4 separate regions of the Homo sapiens genome follow, and regions 1, 3 and 4 are each linked to region 2. Evidence: promoter capture Hi-C in 16 types of primary human blood cells and fetal thymus (Javierre and others, 2016). All regions are on one chromosome and are shown on one strand. The core of a region is centred on a gene start or on the middle of the fragment in contact, and the rest is flanking DNA. Distances in the headings are between cores, read along the strand shown. Region 1 holds the start of CNRIP1 (cannabinoid receptor interacting protein 1). Region 2 holds the start of GKN1 (gastrokine 1). Region 3 overlaps LOC105374789 (a long non-coding RNA gene). Region 4 has its middle 13 kb from the start of FBXO48.

Region 1 (5,276 bases), core at 174-2,673, 650 kb after region 2:
GAAGTTGGCTTGAGATTGTGGGGTTGCTAAACAAAAGGTTGAGGAAAAAAGGCAAAATTTCCAAAAAGGCTTTTAAATGACCCCAAAAAGATACTCACCCTCTTTCCACTACTCATAAACCATAATAACCAACATTAAGTTTACTGTGTAACTCTCTCATTCTTTTAAAAGAGCTAATACAAACATACACATTTATATTCTTTTTAAATTTTCATTTTTCTAAAACACTAGAGATGCTACTTGCAATTAGATTTCTTTTCATCATTCCAGGTAAATCGCAAGGATCTAATTAATTTTAAAGATGTGAAAGAATTTACATATGGACATGATTAAGACCACAACCGTAAGTCAATTCAACAACGATTTCTGGAGCACCTACTATGTGTCAGGCACTATTTTGGCATGCTGGGGAAACAGCAACAAACAAAACAGACAAAATGCTCGCCCTCAGGCTTTGTTTCCCAGCCATCCCACTTTTATCATTAACAGTTTTTGCCTGTGTGTTTGCCAATGCAACCTATATTTCATTATTTTGATAGTTGTGTAACGTTCTATAGTGTGGGTATATAAGAATTTATTCAGCCATTTATTTATTGGTTAACATTTCATTTAGGTTTTATTTTTATTTTTGCAACCAATGTTGCAATAAACACCCATATTACATATATATTATATGTATAGCTTATTATTTCTTAAAAAAGAGCAGTCTAACTTGGGTAAACAAAAACTGCCAAGGAAACGCATCCCTACCCATTTGTTCTCACTAGCCCACTTCATTTCCCAGGTGTGCTCCCTGGCTCTGGTACTATCCATCTGGGTGGTGCTGAAGCAGGTGCTCTCTCTGCTCCGGGAAGCCATTCCCAGTATAGTCCTCACCCCCTGAGTCTCCCCTCGCTTCCAAAAGTCAGCTGTCTACCGACCTCTGCCACGAAAACTGTCTAATCACGCTTAATATGCAAATCTAAACTCTGCGGTGTCGCATATGGCCCCCTGCCAATAATCCTTTGACCCATCCCACCTCTTGGCCATTTTGTCACCAGAATGCCTTAGGCTCATGTCAGTTGCCTTTTACAGGGTTAATAGCTCACCCTTCAAAATCTGTGTAAATATATGTGATTCATTACATATATTTATGTATGTGTCATTTTTGGGACGAGCATACGTATAATGGAAATGTACACCCACAAGAAGATGTAGCTCCTTGAATATGGTTATTTTCTTCCTCTTGCATCCATTCCTCATCCAGCGTGGCTCCATCACGTGGAATTGCGCCTTTCCTCGGCCATTTCCCCTAAGCTTTGGAAAGACTCATATTTCCTGAAATTTAAATCACCGGCTAGCGGTTTCCTGTCCCCCCTTCCCGCCTCCCTTTACCCCCCCTCAGCCTCCTCCCGCCTGGCTGGCGCCGGATCCGCGAGCAGCAGTGTCCACCTCACGTAGCTGGCCGAGGCGGTATCCAGATTCCGGGGGTCTCGCTCCTTGGCATAGTGGTCGCTTAACTCCAGCGCCTTCCCAGTGCCTCCCAAACCTCTCCTCCTCCTGCCCGGGGCTGTTCTAGGAGGAGCCTAAATGTCCGCTTCCCCAGCTGAAGGGGATTGTGGTGCGTAAACAGGATTAACTCCCTCGCCCCCAGCTGCGCGGATCTGCGCGGCGGCCTGCGGGCCAGAGCGAGCCTTCGGGTGCGTGGAGGGCGCAGCACTGGAGCGGGGGATGGGGAAGCGCGCGGCCTTGGAGCCGTCTCTTGGGCCCGCTTCCTCGCCGAGTGGGGAGGGGGGCCACAGCCTAAGGAGCTGCTCCTCAAAAGCCCGGGCGGACGGCGGCGACGGCGCGGGTTCCTAGCGGCAGCCTCAGCTCCACCACCTCCCTCACCCTCCCCGCGCTTCCTCTCCGCCCCTCGCGCTCCAGCCACTCGGCCGCAGCCGGCGCTGTCCTCCGCCCCCCGGAGCCGCCGCGCCAGACCCTCGCCCAGACATGGGGGACCTGCCGGGCCTCGTGCGCCTCTCCATCGCGCTGCGCATCCAGCCTAATGACGGCCCGGTCTTTTACAAGGTGGACGGGCAGCGCTTCGGCCAGAACCGCACCATCAAGCTGCTCACCGGCTCCTCCTACAAGGTTGAGGTGAAGATTAAACCCAGCACGCTGCAGGTCGAGTGAGTGCGGGGCGCCTGGTGGCAGCAGGGTCCCCCATGGGGTACAGGCAGAGGACTGAGGCCCCCAGGACAGCCCGAGCCTCTCAAGGGCCTCTGGCCTCGCGCCGCTCCCAGCGGGCCCGGGGGTTGGAGGAAGAGGTCACTCCCTGTCCGCCTTCGTCCCCTTCCTTCCCTTTGGCTTGTATTCCTCCATTCTCGCTTCCCTCCACCCATCGCAGTGACCTCAGTGGGTTCTTTAAAATCAGTGACAAGAAGCCAGGGTTTTTGCTTGTCTGTTTCTTATAAATTTCTCCTGCCTTCTGTCCAGCCTTGGGCGCGGAACCGCAGGCGGTCGGGGTGGAGCAGATGGGAGAGGTCCGCAGGGTTCAGCCACCGCAATCCCAGCCCTCCTGCGCGCGGTCCAGGCGGCCCACAGGGTCTGCCCGCAAGGCTGAAGGAGGGAGAAAGGAGGAATGAGGTGGAAAGGCAGGGGAGGGGTGATTACTGGGGCTCCCTGAGGGATGCTCCCCACTCCCTTCGCCATTCAGTGGCTGGGACCCTGGGGTGGAGCAGCAGACACTAGTAAGAGAGCGGCCGCCCCTTCTCTGGCCTAGTTTCACGGTTTTCCATGCCGTATGCTGTTCTTTTTCTCCTGAGTTTTCTGTTCAGGCTGGTGATGGTGCCTGGGATTAGCAACATCCCCACAGCAAGAGGATGTTTTTTGGTTTATCCATGGCAGGGACGATTTCTTGCCAGCGACCGCTGGATAATGCACCCAGTAGACCTCTGGCGGGAAAGTGTGTGGGAGCATGCAGTAGCCTACCCGGAAGAACTGCGGGTGGAGCCCCTTTACCTCTCGTTTCTACCTACCAAAGTCTAGTCTGCAGAGAGAAAATAAACCAGCATTTATTGTATCTACTACATATGGTGGGCATTATTGCGGGGGTGGAAGGACTTTGAATTCATCAGATACTACTTATAGCTTACGTTTTAATTCAGTAAACTTGTATTAGCCTTCCAAGGTGCAAGGACCTAGAACCAAATCTGGATGGTTTCTGGTACTCCTGATTCATCTATTTGTCAGCATCCCCCACAGCTCCATGCACCCTTTATTCTCACATTTCCCAGTGTTCTGTGCACCTGGATATAATCCAGGCTTTTCCTTTCCCTTCTTTCCTGCCAACCTTATCCCCGGAGTTATCTGTTAATATATTTCTTTTTTTTTTTTTTAGAGTATTCCTCTAGTGTTCAAACTAATCTAAAAGTTAATTTGTTAGGAATAAAACTATTTTTTCTGGTTACATTTTAATGCTATCAAGGATTTCTCAACTCTAATCCTGTGGTTCTCAAACCTGAGTATATATCAGAATCACCTGGAGTGCTTGTTAAAACACAGATGCTGGAGCTCTCCCTAGAAGTTCTAGTTTAGTCTATGGTAGGGCCTAAGAATTTGTTTTCTAAGGTCTGCAGGTGATGCTGATACTGCTGGTCCAGGGACTTGGCTTTGAGAACCATTATCCTAACACAAAAGAATGATGCCAGTGAGAATTTCTGATGGTGTAGAAGGCTTGAGGTACTCCAAATCATAGGACCCCTGATTGTTGGAACAGGAGAAAAAAAATATTAGAGGACGAGTTCAGTATTCTCAATCCTACCTGCATATTAAGATCACCTAGATAACCTTAAAATAAATGTACCAGTGTCCAAACTACATCCCAGGCCAACTGAATCCTAATGTCTGGGGCTGGGGATAGGTAGGTTTTTAATTCATAAATAGGAGAAGCACTGCCCCCTGAACTTGCAGAACTTTCTCCCGCACCACAATGCCCCCCTTAGTGAAACCCTGTAAGTTTCCTGCCTAGAGTTTTGGTCCAAAACAGGACAGGGTGCCTAGGCTAATTTCAACCGTATGTGGTCAACTCAAGTCTATTGCAGGAATATTTCCATTGGTGGTGTGCTTGTCCCACTGGAACTGAAGTCTAAAGAGCCTGATGGGGACAGAGTTGTTTATACGGGTACATATGACACAGAAGGTGTGACCCCAACGAAGAGTGGAGAACGGCAACCCATCCAGATCACCATGCCGGTAAGGCTTGCTTGCGGGTATAGGAGTATGGTGCCATGGAAAATGGAAACCACAGAAAAGAAAACAATCACTATCTCTCTGTAAGAAAAGGTGTGTTGGGAGCCAATTACTGTGGAAATTGAGTTGTGGATTTCCTTCAAGCATCTGCTGGAGAGAGAACTACTTAATTAATGCTCTTTTGCATGACAGACTGACCCTGTAGATGCTGAAAAGACACCATAAGCAGAAGCAGATGGTTCTGGAAGAGACAGAACCTACATTGCCATTTTCCCAGTTATAGTCTACTTCAGAACTGGTTTAGATAATTGGCTGTGAAAAGTTTCTGATTCCAAGTAGGCCACAATATTCTGGTTAAGAGAAAGCTGATTTGAATGACACTTTGCTACTTAAAGCTAAATGGAGGAGCCAAAAAAAGTGTCATGGGAAAAATACACCTCTTATATAATATCCTATAATACACCTATTTTATATAATATATACCTATTATATATACACCTATATAATATATATATACCTATATTATATATACCTATTATATATAATATCTGGTAATCCTATCAGATATCATATATAATAAAATGATATACCCTGGTAATATGGCCCCAAGTAAGAAAAAACAAATTGGTAGAAAGGATAGAGTCAAGACATAGATTTAACTATATGTGCAAACATAATAAATAGGTGATGAAGCAAGCTTGCTAAAGCACAGGAAAAGGAAGCTTCACCTAAACTGCTGCTTGCAAACTGGGCAGCCTTTTCCCTCTGCAAGAACAACCTTCAACTGTCTGCCCTCTAGCTTTATAGGAAGTATCACAAGGGTTCTCAAATATCGGTATGCGTGAGAATCTCTTTGGGAGTTTGTTTAAAATTCCAGTCCTAGGTTCCCTCTCCAGTGATCTTAGCTCAGTAGAGCTAGGGTGGGGACAGAGAAACTCTTAGCAAGCATACCAGATCCTGAAGAGGATGGTGTGGGAATGCACTTTGAGAAATGCCTATCTAACCTTTGGAAACTTAAAGTGTTCCCAGTCCCCATTATACTTTTTAAAACCACAATAGTCACA
Region 2 (4,896 bases), core at 1,560-4,059:
TCTTTCTTCCTCTATCCAAGCTTATGAAAAGTATTCACTAATTTTACCAATGTGTTCAGTTCTAGTTCAATGTGTTTTTTTCTTCTCTTACCTTGCATTTTTTAACCATAAAGGTTTTAACGATAATGTGAAATTGCTGATTAATTATAAGTAATTATATTAATGTGATATATAGTTTTAGAATTTTTAGTGTAGGCCTTATGAAACGCTGGAAAAATTGATGAAGAAGGGAAGTTGAGAGCCAGGAAAGCTGCTTTCATCTCATTGCCATCCAGTACTGAGGAAGAAAATGTAATTTTCAAGTAGTGATAAATCAAATTATTGAATCAAATCCCTTTTAAAGTAAAACCCAGAATGTACCATCTTGTTTCTCTTCAGTTTAATAAGTGGTATCATAAAGATGACTTTGCTAAGATAATACTTCTGGAAATGTCAGAATAGAGTTTAAAAATTTTTAAGATTGGTCAAAATATTAACTTTATAATAAAACATATACTTGGCAAATGAATTTCCTATAAATTATCATTGGTCAGAATGCTGTTTTGTTGAATTATATTATGTAATATAAACCATAGGTGTTATTAGAAAGTAGAGAACTGCCTTTCTTATTTAGAGCTTTCAAGGACTTGCTATAAATGATTATTTTTAAAATGCTTTATAAATCTTCATGATTTTTCTATTTTGGATAAACTCAGCTATAGTTAATGACAGCATCCTACCTTGAGTAGATATTTGGATTATTTAAATCTAGTAAAAGAAGAAAGTTATACTTCTTCGAGTATTAAGAGATAGGAGTAAAGATTCACTTTTAAGTTATTGAAAATATGTGTATCCTCCTAAATATTAACAAAAATGATTTGGGATAACTGACATGGCTTGGTTATTCAGCTTAAATTTGTACTGTGGCTTATGTTACACAGGTTGTTGATGCTCACCTCTCACTCACTTGTTTCTAATTGTTTTATAAGGTTTAAAATTCTCTCTTTAGAGAAATTCAGAAAATTCACCTGGCACATATTTTGACCTCCTAGGTAACATATTTGTACCAGTATTGAATTTTGGTCAGTGCCCCAATATAAGAAAGTTACTGTTTTAAAATAAAGCAAACTATCTTATTTTCCTTGGAAAAAAAAAGAAGTTTTACAATAAATAGCATAGTATAAATGAATACTATGGTTTGAGATGGCTATAAGTGCTAAAAATCACATCTGAAAATGATTTCAGTTAATTTTCCTATTTAACATGGGATGTTTTCTTCCTAATAGAAATAATCTTTTTATTAAAAAAAACTTTCCAAAGCAATGGATTAGTAGGCAGTTTGGATGCCAATGATGAGAAAGCAAGTATAGAGTGTCTCGCTGGCAAGAGTGATCAGCAGAGGCGATGTCACTAGCAGTGTCCCAGGATACTTGGTTTAATTATTTATCACAGGGTCCCTGACATTGGTTTTCAGAGCACAGAGCTTTATGCAGGGTGCCTCATTCTGGGTACCTAGTCTCATTTCCTTTGCCTGGGACAAAATAGTTTTGAGAACTGCTCTAGAGATTCAAGGTAACTTTTGAAAAAAAATTAAATTTTTCTCCCAATAGCTTAAAAAGGAGTTAAAAATTAGTCTCCTAAAAAGTCAGAGGTAGAAGAAATTTTAGAGAACACCTAGTACAATGCAATCATTTTACAGATAAGGTAACTGAGCTTCAGGGGTTAAGTGAGTTGGCCAAACTTATACCTCTTGTTCACAGCAGAACTAGGAGAGAAATCAAATCTAACCTGTGTCTGGAGCTCCCTCTGACCCTTTTAAACTTTGCTGCTATTAAGAGGACCTAGTTCTAGGTAGTCATTTTACATTTGCAGCCCCATTATAAAGTAGAGTCTGCCGTAACGTTTTCCAGTGTGTAGTATGTTGAAACATGAAAATAGTCATCTGATTCTAGCCCCTTTGCATCGTGTTGTGAGAAACCCGGCACTACTAGTTACTTTGGCAGGGTTTCTCGGTCCACCTCCTCCTAGACTCTCAGGCTTCTGTCTGGAACCACAGGAGAGATGCTGTGGTAGCTTCATGTTTCAGATGCTTTCTTAAATAAATGGCCATGCTAGAGCCCAAGGCAAATCTTTCTTTCTTGGAGACCCATTTTACTGTAACAAATGTGACAAGAAGTCTATCTCAGCCACTTATTTTGATAATAAGCTTTTCATCTTTCCTGAACATGCTCAGGAATTTTGGTAAATAAAAGGAGGAATTCAAGAATGAGGGATGATCGGCACTTTCTAGGGCTTAGGAACTGCTTACCCTGCATGGAGACCGGAATCAGGTGATGCGGAAAGTCATTTTGTTAAAAATAGGTCAGTGTGAGGTGCTCAGACAGCTGTCTAATCTCAGCACAATTATCCTTCTCTATAGAGATGCTTATAAATGCCATGATTATATAAATAGAAAAAAGATTTTTTTTCATTATTTCTTCTTCTAAAAAAAAGGGATACATGTGCAGAACGTGCAGGTTTGTTACATAGGTATATGTGTGCCATGGTGGTTTGCTGCCCCTATTGACCTGTCCTCTAAGTTCCCTCCCCTCACTCTCCACCCCCCAACAGGACCTAGTGTGTGTTGTTCCCCTCTCTGTGTCCATGTGTTTGAAGAGAGAATTTTTTTAAAACAAATTTTCCATGATGGGGCCATAAGAAGCAGACCTCCTAAATCTCAGAATATTGACAGTCTCCAATCATTTGGTGGTAAATTCAAAAGGAAAAATCTACTCACTGTGAACTTCATCTTGTCTTCACGAAAGCAGTGGACAGAGGAGTAGGCAAGCATGGACCTGAATGAGAAGCCTTCTCATATTTGTACTTAACCAGGTTGACTCAAACTAGGTGTTATCAGGTGGGGTCAAAGACTTACCTTCCTCAATTTCTCCTATCTGTGCCATGAGCCAGTGTACCAGGAAACCTTTCAGAATATCTGCATGCTTAGCAAGGAACTTTCACATGGAGTTGACCTGACTCATCACTTGTTGAAGCTGAAGGTATCACAACAAACTCAATATGATTTATGATAACTTCTCACCCAGTCAAAGCTGTGGGCGTGAGTATTTTACACGCTAACATTGCTCAGATTCAGAAAAAGAATAATCCCTAAAATCAAACAAAATCACAGCTGAAAAGCCACGTGTATACTAGGCCTTCCAGATAGCAGCTCCTATAGGAATGTAGGAATGGTTTCCACTTCTTAACTTTTATCTGAGCCCATGGCAATGGTTTTGCTTAGACTAAACATGTTTTGTGAGCAACTCCCACCAAACCTACCCCTTTTCTGCAATGTTGAGCTCACTTAATGATAGCACCATATATCTGGTACAGCCCTTTCTTCTCAGTCTGACATCTACTTAGTTACTGTCATTTTATCTCTGAAATGCCTCTCAACTCTGACCTTGCCCACAGCTCCCCTCACCTGGACTTTCACAACAGTCATGCAATTGATCACTCTGGTCACCAGTTTCTTATATTCCAATGCATTTTCTTCATTAACCCTGAGGTTGTCTTTCTGAAGTGCATAGATAGACATGACTCTATCACGCTTGGAAATTTCGCTGGCAGCCTACAGAAAATTCAAAGTCATTGGAATGGCATCCAGGGTCCTATGTAATAAGATTTCCAAAGGCTTCCCGTCTGCCACTTTATGCTATGTACCTACATTCTAGCTCCACCAGCGTTCCCACCATTCCTGGAAAAGTCAAGATGTGTATGTCTCCATGCCTTTGTACATGCTGTTGTTTTATCTTGGAGGGCCACCCGCTAGCCTCTCGCTTGGTAGACTCCTGTTCATTGTTCAAGGCTCAGCTCAAATATCACTGCCTCCATCACATCTCCCCCATCTGATAGATAGAACTTTCCTAGTGTTTGTTTTTTCCTTCTGGGAACTATAAAAGCAATATCTTTTTATTTGCTTCTAGATAATTTAGTTTTCAGAAGTTACATTAAAATAATAAAAAATATTTTCATCAAAAGCAGAGAGTAGAAACTATCAATTGGGCAGACAAGTAAAAGCTCAAAACAGGTTTGGAGGTGAGTTGGTTTTAATTTTTTTCCTGCTTTTTCCTATACAGTGAAGCTAGTAAATTAAATTTGCCAAGGAGGAAAACTGTATTTCATTAACTACCAATCTATAAATTTTCCCTTTGGAAACTTCGTGCCCACAATTTTCCTCCTGTGCATGGATTGAAACCATAAGATGGGATCACATGGTTATAAAGCTTGATTCGCTATCAACATCTCTTCAAAACTGTTGGTAGGAGTGGATTAGAACAGCTGCAGTATTACTGGATATTTTTTAATGTGTCCACTGATTTCTTTCAAACTCACTCTTTATCCACAGAAGGTAATAAGCCTGGAGTAAGGGGCAGACATGTGTGAAGAGGCCTTCATCTGCTTTAGGAAACTTCATGTCACTGAGAAGTCAATGAGTGGGTAGCATGGTCTCTACGTTTAAACTCAGCCACCAGTAGTCATCTTGGTACACAGGTGCAGTGCCCAGCACACATTTTGCATGTCATACCAAGGACAAGGGCCTGAAGTTCTGCAGTGGACCTGTGAAATGCTGGTCTGGAAGATGTTCCATGACAGACAGACAGACAGATAGATAGATAGATAGATAGATAGATAGATAGATAGATACATACATACATACATACATACATACATACACACGTATACACACATAGATACACACACATACATAGATACATAGGTAGAGTTCCGGGTCCAATAATCCCCCCTTTAGAGACTGACAATTCACATTCACACATCAAATGGGCTAAGAAATTTATAGGGGAAAAATCTCTGTTTCATCCAGGTTCTTCTCATCTTAGTTGACTACAGAACCTGATCGTTTTCCCTTTTTCTTTT
Region 3 (4,962 bases), core at 971-3,470, 870 kb after region 2:
GCAGCTGCCAATAGAGGCCCATTCATCTTTAGGAGGCTATAGTCATCACATTTATTCAGTAGCAAATATGGATTGTTAGGCTAAACAGACCATAATTTAGAACGGCAGTCTCTTAATTGTGCCATTGGTATTCATCACTGTAATAAAATTGTCTAATTGAAAAAGCTATATTGACAAACCAACAAGCAGTACATTGATTTAGTAGCAGTTTTGAATTATTAAGTCTGCAATGTTTTATTCCATAGAACGTTTATATTTTTCATTAGATAGGTCTTCTCTTAAAAGGGGCTGAGGGGTTATTTTGGAAAACTCTTCAGACTGAAGTAAGGATTGCTTCAAGTATGGGAAGATTTGTGGATTCTGAAAAGCCATTTGGTTTTCTGTATGTACTGGATGTGCGTATGTGTGTGTGTGTGTATTTGTGTAGACTAATTTCCCTAGATGATCTGAGCCAAAAATGAAAATTTAAAGTTTGTTCTACTAGTCCTGTGAACTGAGGTCACCAATTGGGAAAGAAAGGATGAGGAGTCAATGTACAAGCCCACCTACCTGGTTGCACTGACCCATGCAGAAAGAACAGCCACTGTGGTAGTGAGCAAGGGCTCTGCGGTGACAGTCTACAGCACATGATGGGGACCACAGCAAGTACTCAATGGGACTGGTGTATTGTTTATATGATTGAAAGGGGTGCTGTGTTATTTAGAAATAGTATTTACCTGCATGTAGCAAAGACCTGGAAAATAATGGGTTAATTCTCCCATATAATGAAAGTCAAGCTGTAGGTAGTCTAAAGTTGCATAGTGTCTCTCCATGATTCAGGCTCCATTCTTTTTTCTCCACTACCCCTATCCTCAAGATGATTTCATGGTTCATGATGACTGCAAGGACCTTGCCATCAAACCACTGAGAAGGTTTGAAGAAGGAATAAAGATAGAAGGGTGGAAAGTGGCACATCTTCCAGTAAGTGGCACTGCAGCACACCCCACACGACACTTTCATTCATAGTTCAGCGGACAGAAGTTAGTCATGTGACTACACTTAGCTCAGAGTGAGACTGTGAAATGTTGCCTTTGGCTAGGCATACCACCGCTCTGAAATAAAATAGGGATTCTTTCAGTATAGAATTTGGGAAAATTAATATTAAGTTGGCATTAGTAGTCTCTGTCACAAACACATTACATTAGCATGGCTTTTGGTGGAGACAAATTGGCAACATCCATCAAAATGTTAAATATTCATACCCCTTGAACCAATAAGTATAAATTTACTCAGAAATATGTGCACATATACAAGTATATATATGCTTATTATAGCACAGCAGTATTAATAATATCAAAATATTGGAAGCAACCTAAAGGTCTATCAATGGTAAAATTGTTTAATAAATTGTGGTATGTACCACAGAATACTATTCGGCTATGAAGGAAGAATGAGGTGACTATAAGTACTGAAAGGCAAAATGACATATTATTAATTAAAAAAGCAAGTTGCAGAGTAATAGTGTATTTCCCTTAGTAGAATTGTATTATACACATCCCTGGGGATGGGTCCGAATCTTTGCAGGCAGAGGAATGAACTCGTGTAATTTGAAAGAGGTCCCAGAAACTCTAAAAGAAAATAATAGTAATGAGTGCAAACCGAATCCCCAGTACAAATACATGAGTGAATTGTTACCACATAGAAAGTGGTAACAATATTATTTTCAGAAGAGCTCTGCTTGTACCAAGCTTGCATCAAAGTATTGGATGGGTCAATCTGACATAAAGCCTTCGTAGCACATCTAATGGTGAAACTGGCATGGGAAGGGCGTCAGTGCCGCTTCTGGGTGAATGGTGAACAGGACTCTGAAGTAATATTCCACTACAATGGCAATATAATCAGATTATAACTTTTTTTAAATACGTTGAGCTCTTACAAGAAACAAAGGGAACTTTCCAATGTCAACAAAACAAAATAAAACAACATGCAAACATGCATAGTAAGCTAAAGCTAGCATTGAGTGGTAAGCAAACTGCAAAACTTGGAGGAGAAATGCCAGTGTCAGTCACAAATGAGGGATTGAAAGCTAAGCTCTGAGGCTGCTGCCAGGCCCTGTGTCCTAATTAAGGAGGCTAAAGCTGTCCCTTGTTGTTAGCATACGTAATTCCAGAAATATATAAATTCAAATCCCTTTTGAGGAAGGTGTCATTAATTCAGGATTTCAGGATTCCTATAGACTATGTGAAACCAAATGGATAATTATGATGAAAAAATCCCCAAATATACAAAGAAACAAAAGACATAATGATGATATGAGTTAGGACTAAGTTTAGCCTCACACAGCAGAACAAACAAATAATGGTGGCTTAGACACACACAGTTTTATTTGTTTTCATCTAAAAGACGTCATGAGATAGGTGTCCAGGACAGATTCATCAGAAATTCATCAGGGACCTGTTTCTTTACAGTTTATGAATCATCTCAGATCTACGTTATGCTCCTTGTTCTTGTGACCCAAGATGGCAGCTAGAGCTCCAGATGCTCACATTCCAGGCCAATTGTGGAAGGAAAGGGATGAAGGGCAGGCCTATTTAAAAAAAAACAAAACCAAAACATTCTGAAGTTTGCACACAGTACTGCCACTTAAAATTTATTGTCAAAAATTTAACCACAATGATCACATCTTGATGTGAACAAAAACTAGGGAGTTTTAACTGGCCAACAATAAGCTTGACTAAAAATTAGTATTTTCCTTACTAGCAAGGGAGTTGGGGAATGGATGCTTGTTGTCAACTGAGTCTCTGACACAGTAAGTGTGTAATGAGCTAGAAAATGGCACCCCTGAATATCTCAGTCCTAAGCCCTGGATCCGTGTGTTATGAGAAAAATTTGAGACTGTAACATCCCCTATCCCTCCCAAGTTGGGAAGGTGCCGAAAGACCAAAGAATGATTTAGGGAAGTTGTGTTTGGCAAGTAGATGAGTTTATTGAGACATACAGGGCAGGGCACTCCTGAGTGGCAGCAGCACAGCTCAAGAGATCTGTGCCACCTCCCTTCTCTAAGCTGCTGTTAAGCTAATTTTCGGGCTCTTTGCCTACTGTGTTTGTGTGATGGTACTGTTTTCTTTGGTAGGTTCTCACATACTCCCTGGGATGTTTAGGCTCTCAGGGACACCTGCTCCTCAGCTGGGTACCATGGCCGTGACTTACTATCTGGCCTTCAGGGTTCAGGCAGCGGGCATATACTTTTAAGTAACCTGGTAGGGCAGCCTGTCACACTGCACTGTTAGTTAGTATCACCTTACATGGCAAAAAGGACTTTGCAGGTGTGATTAAGTTAAGGATCTTGAATGAAGAGATTATTCTGTATTATCCAAATGGGTCCTAGATGTAATCACAAGTGTTCTTATAAGAGGGAGGCAGAGGAAAGTGTGACTACAGAAGTAGAGGATGTTGGCTAAGCAGGGTGGCTCATGCATGTAGTCCCAGCACTTTGGGAGGCTGAGGTGGGAGGATCGCATGAGCTCAGGAGTTCAAGACCAGCCTAGGCAACATAGCAAGACCTCATCTCATTTTACAAAAATAAATAAATAAATAAATAAATAAATAAATAAATAAATAAAGTAGAAGATGCAACAGGTTGGAGTATGGAATGATGCAAGGAAGGGGTCATTGGCCATGGAATGATGGAAGCCCCTAGAAGCTAGAAAAGGCAAGGGAACATCATTCCTACAGCCTCCAGAAGAATCAGCCTTGACTTTAGCTTAGCGCTTTTGGACTTCTGACCCCAAACTGTATGAGAAAGAGTTTGTGTTGTCTTAAGTCACCAATTTGGTCGTAATTTGTTATAGAACTCACTAGGAAATGAATACATATTGAATGTCAGCTGAAACTAAAAACAGATATAGACCCACACCCCACAGATTCTAGACATTGTAATTATTAGACACGTAGCATTTTAAAGAAAATTCAAAGATAAAAAAAATTTACTTAGAAAATGTGCATGGAAGAGACTATAAAGTGACCTGGAAAATCAGAAATGGCATTCATTTTCTCATTTGAAATAAAATGAAGAAATGAAAAATTATAACATCTCTCTCTCTCTCTCTCTATATATATATGTATACATAGCATTGAGTGGTAAGTAGATATATATATATAAGTATATATATATAAATTATATATATATAAAATTTTTGTAATTAAAAAAATAGAGACGAGGTCTCACTTTGTCACCCAGGCTGGAGTGCAGTGGTGTGGTGTGATCACAGCTCTCTGCTGCCTTGAACTCTTGGGCTCAAGGGATCCTCCCATCCTAGCCTTCCTAGTTGGGACTACAGGCACACACTACCACACCTGGCTAATTTTTAAATTTTTTGTAGAGATGAGGTTTTGCCATCTTGCCCATGCTAGGCTCAAACTCCTGGGCTCAAGTGATCTTCCTGCCTTGGTTTCCCAAAGTGCTGGGATTACAGGTATGAGCCACCACACCCAGCCATAACCTAGATATTAATAACACAACGGATTGGTTAAAATTGGTGAGCTATCAAAAAAATATGAGAAATTATTGTTAGGGCTAGATAAGGGCTAGATAGGGAGATAAAAAGTATGACAGAGAAGTTAAGCAATACAAAAGATAGAATGAACAAATAGAGGAGAGACAACATTTGACATATCATGGATTATAATTTTCCAAATATGATGACAGCCATGAATCCACAGCTATAGGAAGACCAACATATACTAAGCAGACTAAAATTCCACACCTAGACACATTCTTGTGTAATAGAACAAAATACTAAAGGCCAAAAGAAGATCTTAAATAAAAGCCAGAGAAAAGGATCACCTACAAAATAAAAACAAGTTGGCTGACAGGAGACTCCTTGACAAGGGAAACTAGACAACAATAGAATAATATCTTCAAACTGATTAACTTACTGTGTTCCAGGAAACGTACTTTCCCAGGAAAAGGGGCTAAATAAA
Region 4 (4,566 bases), core at 1,826-4,325, 520 kb after region 2:
GAGAACTAAATGGAAATTATAGAATTGAAAAATACAACAACAGAAATGTATGCATAGGCTTAATAGCAGTTTATAACACTGAAAAAGCATTTACGTACTGGAAAATAGAACAATAGAACAATGCCAACATTGAAGCACAAAAAGAAAAAAACAAAAAAAGGATTTAGAGATTGAAACAGCATACAAAGTTTCAATATGTTCATATGGGATGTCCAAAAGGGACGGACAGAGAAAGGTAGCTCTTAAATTTCCCTCCGCTTAGTGGGACATGGGATATCTGAGTGAGTTCCCCCCACCCCATGAGATAGCTGTAGAAGTAGCTGAGAACACAGCAAAGGAGCCTCACAGCCGAAGCCGTGGGATTGAGAGCCTAAACCAAGAGCCCAATAGAGGTTGCTGCAGTGTCTTTAGAGTAACAGTAGCCACAGTGCAAATTGAGGTGGGCCAGAGTCAGCTGAAGGAAGACTCCTATACCTCAATCCCCGATTGTGCTAAGAAAACTGACTGCAAATTACAGTAACCAAGAGTGCAGTGAGAGGAGAGGATTAGTGGAAAGTGGAAGGTTGTTAGGAATGGAAGGAAGCATGCAGGCCTAGGGCCTTGCCCCGATGCCTTGCTGTTACTTCAGCCGCCTTTCTGCATGGATGTCAGGAAAAAGGAAGAAGGGAAAAAAGAGGGAGCAACTCCAAGTAGAGTTGCCAGATTTAGCAAATAAAATACTTGAGTTTCAGATAAATAGCAAATTGTTTTTTGGTATATGTCCCCAATGTTTGCAAAGAACACACTTATACTAAAACAAATTCATTTTTATCTGAAATTTAAATTTAACTGAGCATCTTGTATTTTCTCTGGCATCTCTAACCCTGAAAGACTGAGTAACGTGCTGAGCCTGAGTTAATGTGGAAATGACTGGAGTATGGTTGTCCCTCTGAACCCGTGTGTTCTGCATCCACAGATGCAACCGCGGGTCAAAAATACTAGGAAAAATAAAAACAAATGGAAATACAACAATAAAAAATTATATAAAAAGCAACACAGTATAATAACTACATAGCATTTACATTGCATTAGTATTATAAGTAATTTAGAAATGATTTAAAGTATACGGAAAGATGTGCACAGGTTGTGTGTAAATATTGCACAATTTTATATAAGGGACTTGAGCATCTGCAAATTTTGGCAGATACCAAGGGATGACTGTACTTTTAATGGGCAAGATTAAATTTTACAGTGTGTCTCATTCCTCTCCCAATTCCACACTGCTCACGGAAAAGAAAATAGGAGTTGACCAAGTGGTGATATTGTAGGGTAACTCAATCTCCTCTCAGGCCCACTCTGCCTAAACACTCTACAGCATACCCCATTTCCACTCTACTGTGATTGGCACACACCTAAAACAAATAGCATGTCCTATTTGTCCCACCGTTTCCAGGTGGAACATACAGCAGAAGTCCGTTCTGTCACGAAATCATCAAATGTGTTTGTGGCTTTCAACACTGGAGGAAGGTGGAGGTAGGACCTCTTGGAAATGCCTCATGTAACCCTCCTTTACTCTTCTTGGATTCTCTTCTTCACGCCAACTGGCAAACTTCTCAATCCCTTTTGGGGTGGGAATGCTGTACTGCACTTCATTCATATCCTATCTTTTTCTTCCTTCCTATATCTGGTAGTTCATTTAATAAACACTGTTCTAGATTCTCTAAAGGGAATAATTTGGAATTAAAAAGACCTTTTTCTTCCTCAAGTGCCTCTATCATTTTGTTGTGCCAACTGAAGAATCACGAGGTTCATGAATGTGGAAAGGAGAGCTTTATTTCTTATAAAGGGTTGCAGCCTGCAGGCTGGCCATCCCACAGCCTGGGAAGGGTAGCTTCTGGCAGAAACCAGAAGCAGGTACTTCTAGGGAGGGAAGGGTAAGACAGGAATTTAGGCTGAAAGGGTCAGCTAAGTATATACATTTAACAGGCTATAGGAGGAGCTATGAATATTCACAAAAGGGGAGTGCACTCATGCACAGCAAGCTAACATGTATGTTACCTACATCCTATGTTCACTTTAGGATGGAAACTTAACATTTAAATGTATTAAAATTAGGCTCTATACGTCAAAAGCTGAAACAGAGGACACAGAAGCATCCTGTGTGCAGCTTCTGTAAACCGGCCAGAACCAGTCCATGGTTAGTGGCCTCTTATCAGGAAGGAATGATGGTCAGTTGTTGTGTCAAACTGCAAAAAGGAAGAAGAGTCCAGCAAGTCTTCAGAAAGGGCCTGTTTCTGTTTAACACTTAGGAGTGGAAGTATAATGGCAAGTAGCAAGGGAGGGAGTATAACAGGGCATGTCTGACCTCCCAATCCATCATGGCTGGGAATTCAGCTTTTAAGATTTCTCTAGGATCTCCTTAGCCAAGAGGGGAGTCCTTTTAGTCAGTTGCAGGGGGGACCTTTGGATTTTATTTTCGTTTCTCAGTTGAAAGCCTAGCAGTTAAGACTTCTGAGTCTTCTATGCTTGAAAAAAGTCTTTTGAAATTCAAAGCTGAGTTCTGACTTCTTTATTCTCGGCTGTACCTACCAGACCCACAAAGCACTGGATGCCTGTCTTTCCAGGCAGAGAGCTGCAGAGAAATAAGAATTACTGGGCATGGAAAATACAGCGGAATGTATTACAAAAAAAAAACAACCCATTCTAGTATTACTCTACACAATAAAATAATGCTGGAAAAGGAAGAAAGAGTAAAAACTATAAAGAACAGCTGAGACAGAAGAAGGTAATAAACAAGGCATGCGGGTTGGGTTTCTAATAAAAGCTTGACATCCTTATATTGAGTTCTACCACAAGTAAAACTGACTTTTTTCATGAACCTGTTTGCATTTTCCAATACCTCCTTGTCCTTACCCAGTCAGGGCCGGATGGAAATAAAAAAAGATAAAACTGCAGTTTTACAAGTACCACACCAATCATACTGTATTATCATAAACATTAACTGCTCAAGAAAAAATTTTTCTTAATTAATTAATTTAGTTATTTATTTTTAGAGACTGGGTCTCACTATGTTGCCCAGGCTGGCCTCGAACTCCTGAGCTCAAGCAATCCTCTCCCCTCAACCTCCCAAAGTGCTGGAATTACAAGCATGAACCACTGTTCTGGCCCAAAAGAAATTTTTAATAATCATTTTCTGAGGCCTACTTTTCTGCTATGGGTCTTCTGTGCCTTGTAGGGGAAAAAAACCCAGCTGCTGGTTTCCCAGTTTGCTCATTTTGATTTACTTTTAATATGACAAAATTATACAGTCCATTTGTCACACAATGAAATCCTGATAGAAAATATGTAAAACCATAAAAGAAGCTTTCTAAAAATCACACGTGAGAATCTCCCCCACTTATTGCTGTGGTTGTGTTTTTTTGTTGCCTAACAAGTAGATTGAGCACAATTTCCTGTCTTTATTCTCATTGGTTAGTGAAGAAAATAAAAAGGACTGCTTTTGCCATTGTTTTCCTGTGTATGGCCTACTTTTTTCATCAGTTCAACTTTTTTTTTTCTCTCTCAGACTTTTATTATATATTTTTAAACGTGCTTTCTCCCTAAATGTTTTATTTTGAAAGTTTTCACTCTTACAAAAAATTTCAAAGTCTAGAATATGGCATCATCACCTAGATTAACCAATTGTTAACTTTAACCATGTGTGCTTTATCTCTGTCTATACCAGGTCCCTAAACTTTATCACTATTAACATTCTGGGCTGGATAATTCTTTGTTTGGGGGAGGGGCAGGGGTGCTGTCGTATACACTGTAGAATGTTTAGCAGCACCGCTGGCCTCTATTCATTAGATGCCAGTAGCACCACTTCCCAAGTGCTGGCAACCAAAAATGTCGCCAGACATTGCCAAATGTCTCCTGGGGGAAAATCCCTCTTGTTAGGAACTACTGGTTTATACTACATTTTAAAAAAACACCTAAATGTCCATCAACCAAGAAGAGTGGATAAAGAATAGATATCTATAATATGTATATTTATATATAATATATATTATATATTTTATATATAATATATATAATTTATATATAATATATAATATATATTTTATATATTATATATTATATATATTATATATAAAATATATATTTAATATAATATATAATATAATATATATATATTTTATATAATATATAATATATATATTTTATATAATATATAATATATAATATATAAAATATATATTTAATATAATATATAATATATTATATATAATATGTAATATATAATATATAATATATTATATATAATATGTAATATATAATGTATATTATATATTATAATATATAATATATATTATATAATATACATTATATATAATATATATTATATATAATATACATTATATATAATATACATAATATACATTATATATAATATACATAATATACATTTTATATATAATATATATAATATACATTTTATATATAATATATATAATATACATTTTATATATAATATATATAATATACATTTTATATATAATATATATAATATACATTTTATATATAATATAAAATTATATATAATATACA

Evidence for each region. The method cuts DNA at HindIII sites, captures the fragments that hold promoters and counts their contacts. A CHiCAGO score of 5 or more calls a contact.
Region 1: a contact is called between the fragment with the promoter of CNRIP1 here and the fragment with the promoter of GKN1 in region 2, in 3 of 17 cell types (naive CD8 T cells, activated CD4 T cells and naive CD4 T cells). The highest score is 6.8, in naive CD8 T cells.
Region 3: a fragment that was not itself captured here is called in contact with the fragment with the promoter of GKN1 in region 2 in 1 of 17 cell types (activated CD4 T cells); the score reaches 7.1 in activated CD4 T cells.
Region 4: a contact is called between a fragment that was not itself captured here and the fragment with the promoter of GKN1 in region 2, in 4 of 17 cell types (activated CD4 T cells, naive CD4 T cells, non-activated CD4 T cells and 1 more). The highest score is 9.2, in activated CD4 T cells.

What each region holds. Positions count from the first base shown.
Region 1 is chr2:68,316,096-68,321,371 of GRCh38, reverse strand. CNRIP1 (cannabinoid receptor interacting protein 1) reads left to right here and starts at 1,423. Exons shown (of 3, transcript NM_015463.3): 1 at 1,423-2,150; 2 at 4,065-4,215. The coding sequence starts at 1,972. The HindIII fragment of the contact is 3,613 bases long and covers 1,299-4,911 here.
Region 2 is chr2:68,972,549-68,977,444 of GRCh38, reverse strand. It overlaps GKN1 (gastrokine 1), which reads right to left and starts at 2,809. Exons shown (of 6, transcript NM_019617.4): 1 at 2,756-2,809. The coding sequence starts at 2,767. The HindIII fragment of the contact is 2,059 bases long and covers 2,188-4,246 here.
Region 3 is chr2:68,106,325-68,111,286 of GRCh38, reverse strand. LOC105374789 (a long non-coding RNA gene) reads left to right here. Exons shown (of 3, transcript XR_940223.3): 1 at 1-960. Among named protein-coding and RNA genes, the nearest start is that of C1D, 46 kb to the right of the region's middle. The HindIII fragment of the contact is 981 bases long and covers 1,730-2,710 here.
Region 4 is chr2:68,451,580-68,456,145 of GRCh38, reverse strand. No RefSeq gene overlaps it. Among named protein-coding and RNA genes, the nearest start is that of FBXO48, 13 kb to the left of the region's middle. The HindIII fragment of the contact is 539 bases long and covers 2,806-3,344 here.